Linked DNA regions of Homo sapiens: regions 1 and 3 are each linked to region 2. The links are contacts of gene promoters, found by promoter capture Hi-C in blood cells and fetal thymus (Javierre and others, 2016). All regions are on one chromosome and are shown on one strand. The core of a region is centred on a gene start or on the middle of the fragment in contact, and the rest is flanking DNA. Distances in the headings are between cores, read along the strand shown.

Region 1 (2,896 bases), core at 345-2,844, 960 kb before region 2:
CCTCTCCAGAAGCCCTGGTGGCTTTATGGTTGCTGGCCTGGCTCTGGTTTCCATCACTTGCTTACACCGCCAGCAGGATGACAAGGATAAAATTAGTGAAAGACCTTTTAAATAATCATCAAGTCTCGTTTTGGCACTGCTCACTCCTTCACAAGATTTTTTCCCACCAAATTAGCCAGTTTGATTGAGTTTTTGCTTTGTCTGTTTTGGTTCCACCAAGAACTAGCCAAGCAACTGGGCAATTCAGTTCTGCGGGGGCCGGGGGGGGGGCCTTCGTTTTCCCATCTGTAAATGAAGAGTTGGGCTACATAAATTCGAAGCTCAAACCTTCTCTGTCCACCTTTTCTGGAGAAAAGGTAAATAGAGCCTGAGAAGCCCCAGGAAAAGGCACATAAAAAGGAAATGGGAAGAAGCCAGGGCAACTCCAACAAACTGAATACTCAAGTCCTCTCACGTTAATGGCTCTATCTGGGCAGGCAGGTGAGGGGAGAACCTTTATCTTGACTCTAGGGAGGGAAGCATGGAAGTTTTAGGAGAACCAAGGTTCCTGGGTTCTGAATCACTGAGTCACTAATCAAGTGGCTAACTGTGTTAGTGACAACTGCAGAAGCTGGAGGGAGGGGCTGGGAGAGGAGCAGCGAGGAGGAGACGGGTGGGGGAGGAGATGGGGATGAAAGGGAAGCGTTTGCAGCTTGTGGAGCACTGGGAAGAGCAGGGACATCAAGGGCACCAAATAAAGGTCCAGGGAGCAAAGAAAGAAATGGAGAAAATTCATTCTGCTGGAAATAGACATGAGTGCAGTCAGGAAGAAGACTTACAGATTCAGGGTGACCTGATTTGATTACAGCAACAGGAAGTGCAAGAGAGAGAGGGCAGAATAACCTGACCTAAGGAAGTGAATTAAATAATAGAGAAGACACCACAGTTGCCATGGTATTAAAATACCTCATGCCACATTAAGCTTCCTCTTTCTCTTTTGCTTGATTCTTGTTTTTGCAACATGTTAATGTTGCAATGACATGTTAATGTCATTGCAGGGTATCCAGTAAACTAAATTTAGACTTTCTGGGGCGGGGAGGGGAGGGAAGATGCAGCCCAGATCTCCCTGTTTGGGTCGACTCTGGGCCAATATTGTTCCTTCACAGAGTTCTTGGGGTTTTTTGCATTATGGGATATGAAAACTCTTATGTCAGGCTTGGGCCTAGTGAAGCTGCTGAGTGAAATGATTGAAAAAAAAAAAATGAGGCCAGGCACGGTGGGTCACGCCTGTAATTCCAGCGCTTTGGGAGACAGAGGCAGGTGGATCACCTGAGGTCAGGAGTTCATGACCAGCCTGGCCAACATGGTGAAACCCTGTCTCTACTAAAAATACAAAAATTACAAAAATACAAAAACTGGTGGTGCATGCCTGTAGTCCCAGCTACTTGGGAGGCTGAGGAAGGAGAATCACTTGAACCTGGGAGGCGGAGGCTGCAATGAGCCGAGATGGCATCACTGCACTGCACTCCAGCCTGGGCCACGGAGTGAGACTCCATCTCAAAAAAACAAACAACAACAAAAAAAACCCTCACACACACACACACACACACAAAGAAAAATTGGAAATAGTTTTCAAAGGGGCATCTGTTTTAGAAATTACTTTAGAAAAACAATAGGATTGCAGAAACTTGAAAAATAAAGACAAACCGCCACCAAAACCAAATGTGTTTTCATAGATATTATTTTCTCTAATTGTTTTTGAAAAATTACTTTACTAGGCTAAAATTAAGATTATTGAGTCCTGCAATTGGTCCTCTGCAAAAGTAGACATTGCAGAGGGCAGGTACATGGTATACTCTTTTGACACTACAATATCCAGGATGGGCAGAGGAGTATTTCCAGCTGACCTATTTACCACAAATGTCATAACATTCATCAAGGGTCAGCTCTTGACCTTCCTCAAGTGGACTCACATTAACTAGACCCCGAGAGACTGAGATGTATGCCTGAATTATGATGGACAGATCAGAATACTCACACTGTCAGGGCAAAAGATCTCTCTATATAAATAAATGCACTTGAGAAGACAAATTCCATCCAAAAGTTTGCTTAGTTATCTGGAGTAGAATGAAGGACATTAGTTGTGTGGTCCACAAGACAAATACTCTGATACAGTGTTCTGAAAGAATGAGGCTGCCCACCCATCCCACTCACCTCTGCTTAGATGGGCCCTATGGCTTCTGAGGCTTCAAGCTTCTTTCTCCGTGCTCTAGTTTCTCCAAACCTGATTCTCCACACAGCGTCCTATACAGCCCATTAGGCAGATTTACACTTTCTAAGTCATAATGACATTCTCTATCTTCCTGGCATTACAGCCAAGTCACTTTAATGGGAATTTGAGGTAATCCTCAAACTTCTCAGTCACAAATTGAGTCACTCTCTTGGTTTATGCCCACTGAATTCTAGTCAAAACCATTGAGTGTGCAGATTTTGGTAGTCAAACTTTCTGAGAGCAACCTGGTTCTCAAGTTCTTGGGAAAGCACCTCATTTCTGCTTCACAAGCCATCAACAGTGGGCCAACCTTCTTAGGCTACCATGATTTCTGAGAAAGAGACCAGAGACATATTAAGACCCACGTGGCCTGTCCTGTGATACAGTCATCCAAGTTTTCCTGGGCACTCAGCTCAAAGATATTTCTATTCTGTGCAGGAGTGGAGAGGTTGGCTCTTTGCTATGATAGCTTAGGCAACGGAACGCCACCTTGAGGATGCAGATTCCATCTACTATAACATAGATGGAGGGCAAAGTGTCCTCTTCATTTTCCAAATGGGACTGTCTGGCTTTGAATCCAATATCCAGAAATGAAAATACCCATGTGGTCCTCTTCACTCAGTCACAAACAAAGACAGGTTGATT
Region 2 (2,852 bases), core at 220-2,719:
AGATCCTCCTGAAATAGAAGTTAGTTTACAGGTCAATTTGCCAAATCGGCTGTGCACTTTGCCTTTCTAAATCTTTTAATCTATAATTTTAAAAATTACATTAGATGATAGTTATAAGTTCTCTTTAAGATTTAAGATTCTGTGATTTTACTATTGTAGTGTCTATCCAGACTTCATTACCAAGTTCATTGTTGGTATGGGACAGGGATGACGGCTTATGCACCCTGCACATGGCTAGTGTTCTACAATTAGTCCATTTTTTAAACGCTGGTTGAGATGTGGGAAAGTATGTATCACTTGCTTCAATTCAAGGAGTTGGAAGGAATATACATATATACACTTGCATATAATATTTTTGGAATTAGAAACAAGAAAGTAATACTGGTTGCTTCTGAGCAAGGTGACGGAGGTATCAGGAGTTTTGGGTGGATGGGGAAATTTGTTTTCAGTATCAGTTGTCCTTTGTATTTATATTCTACTCTCCCCCTTGCTCTTTCTCCTCCAGCCACCCCGGCCTTCTTGCTCTTCCTCCAACATTTCAAAAACCCTCCCAATTCAAGGTCTTTGCACTTGTCATTCTGGTGCCTGGATCACTCTCCCTCCAGATACTCCCACAGTAAACTCCCTTACTTCGTTCAATGAGGCCAAAATGCCACGTTAATAATGAGACTTCCTTGACCACACTGTATGCAATGACTTCCCCCACAGACTCCCCATTACCCCTTAGCTAACAACCCCTATACCCTTAACATTTAGTAGCATCTGACATATTAAATATTTGGCTGTTTGTTTCGTGTTTGACTGCCTTTTGGAACACTGCCTGTGCTAACAATCAACAAATACTTGTTGAATTAAGAAACTTACTGCTTGAGGTTTTTAAAAAGTAATCACGAAATTACTTTTTCAACAAAAACAACCAGTTAGGGAATAAACATTTGATAAATTAACTTTTAGACCTATAGTATTATAGGATAAAGTCCAAACTTCGTTTCTCAACACATGGACTTTCCTCATCTGCCACGTATTGGCCACAGTCAAGTAGCCGGTTCCCTTTTCTCGTGCATAAAGTGGAGTTATTCATAATTACTTCACAGAATTAAGATTCAATGCAGATGAAAGCGCTTTTGTAACTAAGGCACTATAAGTTACCGTAAGCACAGGGTTTCTTCCGCGCTTGGAGCCTAGGAATAGTACAAGGTGTCAACCCGCGCTAAGGACCTGAGGTTCAAGGAGGGAAAAGTCTCCAGCGCAGCGCTAGGAGGCGCTACTCCGGCGCGGGGCGGGGCTCCTGGCCGCCGTTGCCAGGGAAACCGTCTGGGCGTCCCTAGTATCTGAGCCCTCGCGCCTGGGCCACTCAGCTCGACCTCTCTCCAGCGTTAGCAATAGGTGGAGCGCGGGCCAATCGGAAGAGGCCGGAGGGGCGGGGCGGGCAGTGGCCCTGGGAAGGCGGGTCCGCGGCCTCGCTCCCTGACTTCCGGGTCGCGGTGCTTGAAGGGAGTGTTCCGTCGTTTCCGTTGCCGGCTGTTTGCAGTGGGGAAACCGAGGCAGCTCCTGCTCCCCCTAGTTCTTCCGCTCCTGTGAGGTGGCTGCTGTTTCTTTTCCTCTTGCCCCGGATGCCTCGGTGCGGCTGCACTGAGAGCGCGCGGGCTCGCGAGCCCCGCGGGGTTCTGCGGGAACCCGGGGGCGCCTGGGCCGGCGGGTCTTTGTGCGAGCCCTGCCCTCCCATTCGCGGGCGGCGCGCGAGGGGGGTCGGCGCAGAGACGCCCAGAGCCCTGGGGTGCTCAGGCGCCGCTACGCGTGCATCCCCTCTGCTCGGCAGTTCTGCGCTTTTGTCCTAATGAGCGCGGACTAGATGGCTTGATTTTCAAGATAATGATCAACCCAGCTGTGCTATGCGCTCTTTCTGCACTGACCTGCGGGTACTTCGAACTTCGACAGTCCCTCCTCAGGCCCTAGTCCAGAGGTGACGTGTCTGTGGGAATGTTTAAGGCAGGAAGGAGACGAGCAATTTTGTTTTTAAGTATCTCCCTCTCACTAGTATCTCCCTGACTTTTTCATTTAGAAGCTGAAGAATTTTCTTATGGCATAAGATATAGTTGTATCGAGTGTGTACTTAGCAAAACAAAAACTTGTTAGTATTTCTGCCCTTGACCTATTGAATGGAAAATCAAGAATGAGCTAAGGTGTTATATACTCAGTGTTCAACTTGTATACTTAAGTTTGTAGTGTTTTTATTTGCTGGCATCACCTGACTGGGACAGTTGTAACGAATTATCCACATGGGATAAGAAGAGTGTATTCTATAAAAACAACTCTGATGTTTTGGTATATATTTTAATTGTTGATTAGTTGGAGTCCTCTTGATCTTGAACTGTTGAGCCCCAGTTCTCAAAGAATGGGAAGTTAGGAAACTAAGATATGAAATACAATTATTTAGCAAAAAGTGCAAACCATTCTGTTACTCTTTCAAGCCATTGAATAGTTTGAGTACATTGTTTGAATTTTAGTTTTGAAAAAGTGATTAATTGGCCATTTGATCATCAATTAATAGCGGTATATATTACACCTGCCATTGTTTTTAAATGCCTAATTAAACTGTCAAAACAGACACAATGAAATGATAGATACATAATTTGAGATTTGATCAGTTGTATAAACTTTTTAAATTTTAAAATTCAGTTTAAGGTCATTAAGCTTGTCTTGTATGTTTCCCTCCTCCAGGAAAAAAAAATGTTTATTTCTTTGTGGGAGTTCTTCTATGGGCACTTTTTTCGATTTTGGATGAAATGGCTATTACGACAGATGACTGGGAAGTGTGAATTGCAGCGAATATTTGATACCTATGTAGGTGC
Region 3 (2,929 bases), core at 346-2,845, 860 kb before region 2:
AGAGGCCCAAGGTTGTGTTATTAAATTGTAGGGTCTGTGTGAGGCTGAGGCAACTGCCCTCCCCAGAAGACACTGGGAGCTCCCTGCTAGGGACTAAATGTTTGTGTCCCCTCTGCAATTCATATGTTGAGACCCTAACCCCCAACGTGATGTTATCAGGCATTTGGCAGATAATTAGCTACAGGTGAGGTTATGAGCATAGGCCCCCATAATGGGATCTGTGCCCTTATAAGAAGTGACCAGGAAGCTTACTCTTTCTCTGTCTCCAACATGAAGGTGTCCTTCTGCAAACCAGGAAGAGGGCCCTCACCAGGAACTGATTGGCCAGCACTGTCATCTTGGACTTCCCAGCCTTCAGGACTGTGACGAATAAATTGCTATTGTAAGCCACCCAGTCTATGGTATCTTTGTTATAGCAGCTTGAGCCAAGATATACCCTCTAATGGTGCTGTAGGATGGGGTGAGGAAAGGCCCCCAGCTCTGGTTTTTGGGAAGCTGCATCTTTATTTTTATTATTTGTTTGAGACAGGGTCTCACTTTGTCACCCAGGCTGAAGTGCAGTGGAACGACCTTGGCTCACTGCAGTCTCAGGCTCCTGGGTTCAAGCAATCCCCTTGCCTCAGCCCCCTAAGTAGCTGGGACTACAGGCACGTGCCACCATGCCCTGCTAATTTTTGTATTTCTTTAAGAGATGGGGTTTTGCCATGTTACCCAGGCTGGTCTCGAACTCCTGAGCTCAAACCATCTGCCCATTTCAGCCTCCCAAACTGTTGGGATTACAGGCATGAGCCATCCTTCCAGGCCAGAATCTGCATCTCTAAAGAGCAGATTCTCCTGCCTCAGCCTCCTGCGTAGCTGGGACTACAGGTTCGTGCCACCATGCCCAGCTGATTTTTTGTATTTTTAGTAGAGAAGGGGTTTTACTGTGTTAGCCAGGATAGTCTTGATCTCCTGACCTCGTGATTCACCCTCCTTGGCCTCTTAAAGTGCTGGGATTACAAGTGTGAGCCATCGCGCCCGGCCGGTTTATTTTTTTAAAAATGGCTGGGCACAGTGACTTGTGGCTGTAGTTCTAGCTACTTGGGAGGCTGAGGCAGGAGGATTACTTAAGCCCAAGAGTTGGAGGCTGCAGTGAGCTATGATCGTGCCACCACACACTCCAGCCTGGGTGACAGATCAAGACCCTGTCTTAAAAAAAAAAAGTATGATTATTATCAGAGTCTCTAGGTGACAGTGAGAGGCAGCCTGGTGCAGGGGATAGGGCACAGTTGTAATCTGCTAGACTGGGTTCAAATCCTAAATCGGCCATTCAGAGCGTGAATACATTAGAACTGGCTTAAATTAGCATTTAAAATGTCAACAGGATTAAGTAAGTAGTTCCTTCTCACTTTTTCCACAGGAGGTGAGAAAGGTCTCAGCAAGGCCCTAGGAGGGAAGGGCGTGGGGATGAAAGGGATCCAGAGAGTCTGTGCATTGGCAGAGAAGATAGTGTAACTGGCACTGCGGCTGGAGGGCTGGTCCCACAGTGAGCTACAGCCCTGCCCGCTGGCCGTGGGAGAGGCTTAAAACAAACGCCGGAAGCAACTCCCAGCCCCATAAAGATCTGTGACCGGCAGCCCCAGACCTGCCTGCCTTCCTGACTTCTGTTCCAGAGCAAAGGTCATTCAGCCGCTTGAATCAGCCTTTTCCCCCCACCCGGTCCCCAACTTTGTTTACCCGATAAGGAAGGTCAGCATTCAAAGTCAAGAAGCGCCATTTATCTTCCCGTGCGCTCTACAAATAGTTCCGTGAGAAAGATGGCCGGGAACTCGATCCTGCTGGCTGCTGTCTCTATTCTCTCGGCCTGTCAGCAAAGTAAGAGGCATGGGAAGTTCGTGTGTGTGCGCGTGTGTGCGTGTGTGTGTGTGTGTGACAAGGCTTGCGGGAGAGAGAGGGAGGGAGGGAGATGGGTCCGGTGTTTTGTTTCCTACTTGCCCTTGCAGGTAGCTCTGGGTCCTCAGAGCACAGTCGCCTCAGGGTCACCCATGCCGCCTGCTACCCTCCTTCCCAGGGGCAAGCAGAGACTGAGAACATTCCAGAGATTAGTTCTCCCAACTGGAACGCTGTGGGGCCTCAGAGCTCAGCGATTCTGCATCATCTGTGATTACGACCCACAGCCCGTTCAAACGAGCGTTAGTAGCCTGCTAACCTGCAGGAAGTGGTGTGAATATTAATTACAAGTGTTCCAAAGGAAACGTGCCTGCTTCTAAACCTGGTTGTGATTTCTTGAACGTTGATGTTTTAATTAATGTGTTTTCTTAAATAAACTGCCTATGGTGGTATGATTATCAGATTGAAAAAAACTTCCTTCAGAAATATTAGCTTTAGATTAAGTAATTAGCTCTAAATTTTAAAACAGCTTCCCACTAGGATTATTCAATATCTCGACTGCCTGGTTAAATAGAGGGCTTTTACTCCATGGGAGTCACATTTGCTCAATTCATATTATCTTACCTACAATGTCAGCTGGGGAAAGGGGTCCGAGTGCAAGAGTGCAAGACTTCTTACCAAGCATGCATATTTCTTTATATTTCCAAGTATGCCTGTACCAGGAAATAGGGCCAAGCCGTAGACTGCTCAGGTTACACAAACAGCCAGAAGCAGGAAGGCCTCACAGCTGAGGATCCAGTCCAGGCCTCCGTGCATGCTCAATGTCTTGCCTAGCCAGTCTGTTTTGAGATTGTATGAAGATCTTGAACCTTCAGACTCACGTTTTGTGGTTTGATTCACACAATCTGTTGTGGAGAAGAGCAGGATATTTGTTTCTAATTAAAGAAGCACTTAGATCTGTTAAAAGGAAAACCCTAGACAAATTACATTTAACTGAGTTTAATTGAGCAAAGAACGATTCACAGTTGGGCATGGGGAACCGGAATAGGTTCAGAGAGAC

The links. Contacts are between HindIII fragments. The CHiCAGO score rates a contact against its expected background, and 5 or more counts as called.
Region 1: a fragment that was not itself captured here is called in contact with the fragment with the promoter of ELMOD2 in region 2 in 1 of 17 cell types (total B cells); the score reaches 5.4 in total B cells.
Region 3: the fragment with the promoter of MGST2 here is called in contact with the fragment with the promoter of ELMOD2 in region 2 in 8 of 17 cell types (fetal thymus, activated CD4 T cells, erythroblasts and 5 more); the score reaches 15.3 in fetal thymus.

What each region holds. Positions count from the first base shown.
Region 1 is chr4:139,559,965-139,562,860 of GRCh38, forward strand. No RefSeq gene overlaps it. Among named protein-coding and RNA genes, the nearest start is that of SETD7, 5.2 kb to the left of the region's middle. The HindIII fragment of the contact is 1,271 bases long and covers 960-2,230 here.
Region 2 is chr4:140,522,699-140,525,550 of GRCh38, forward strand. It overlaps ELMOD2 (ELMO domain containing 2), which reads left to right and starts at 1,470. Exons shown (of 9, transcript NM_153702.4): 1 at 1,470-1,582; 2 at 2,722-2,852. The coding sequence starts at 2,731. RefSeq lists silencers at 1,172-1,521, 1,712-1,831. The HindIII fragment of the contact is 7,186 bases long and covers 1-2,692 here.
Region 3 is chr4:139,664,224-139,667,152 of GRCh38, forward strand. MGST2 (microsomal glutathione S-transferase 2) reads left to right here and starts at 1,596. Exons shown (of 5, transcript NM_002413.5): 1 at 1,596-1,854. The coding sequence starts at 1,797. RefSeq lists enhancers at 1,155-2,354, 1,651-1,820. The HindIII fragment of the contact is 3,780 bases long and covers 246-2,929 here.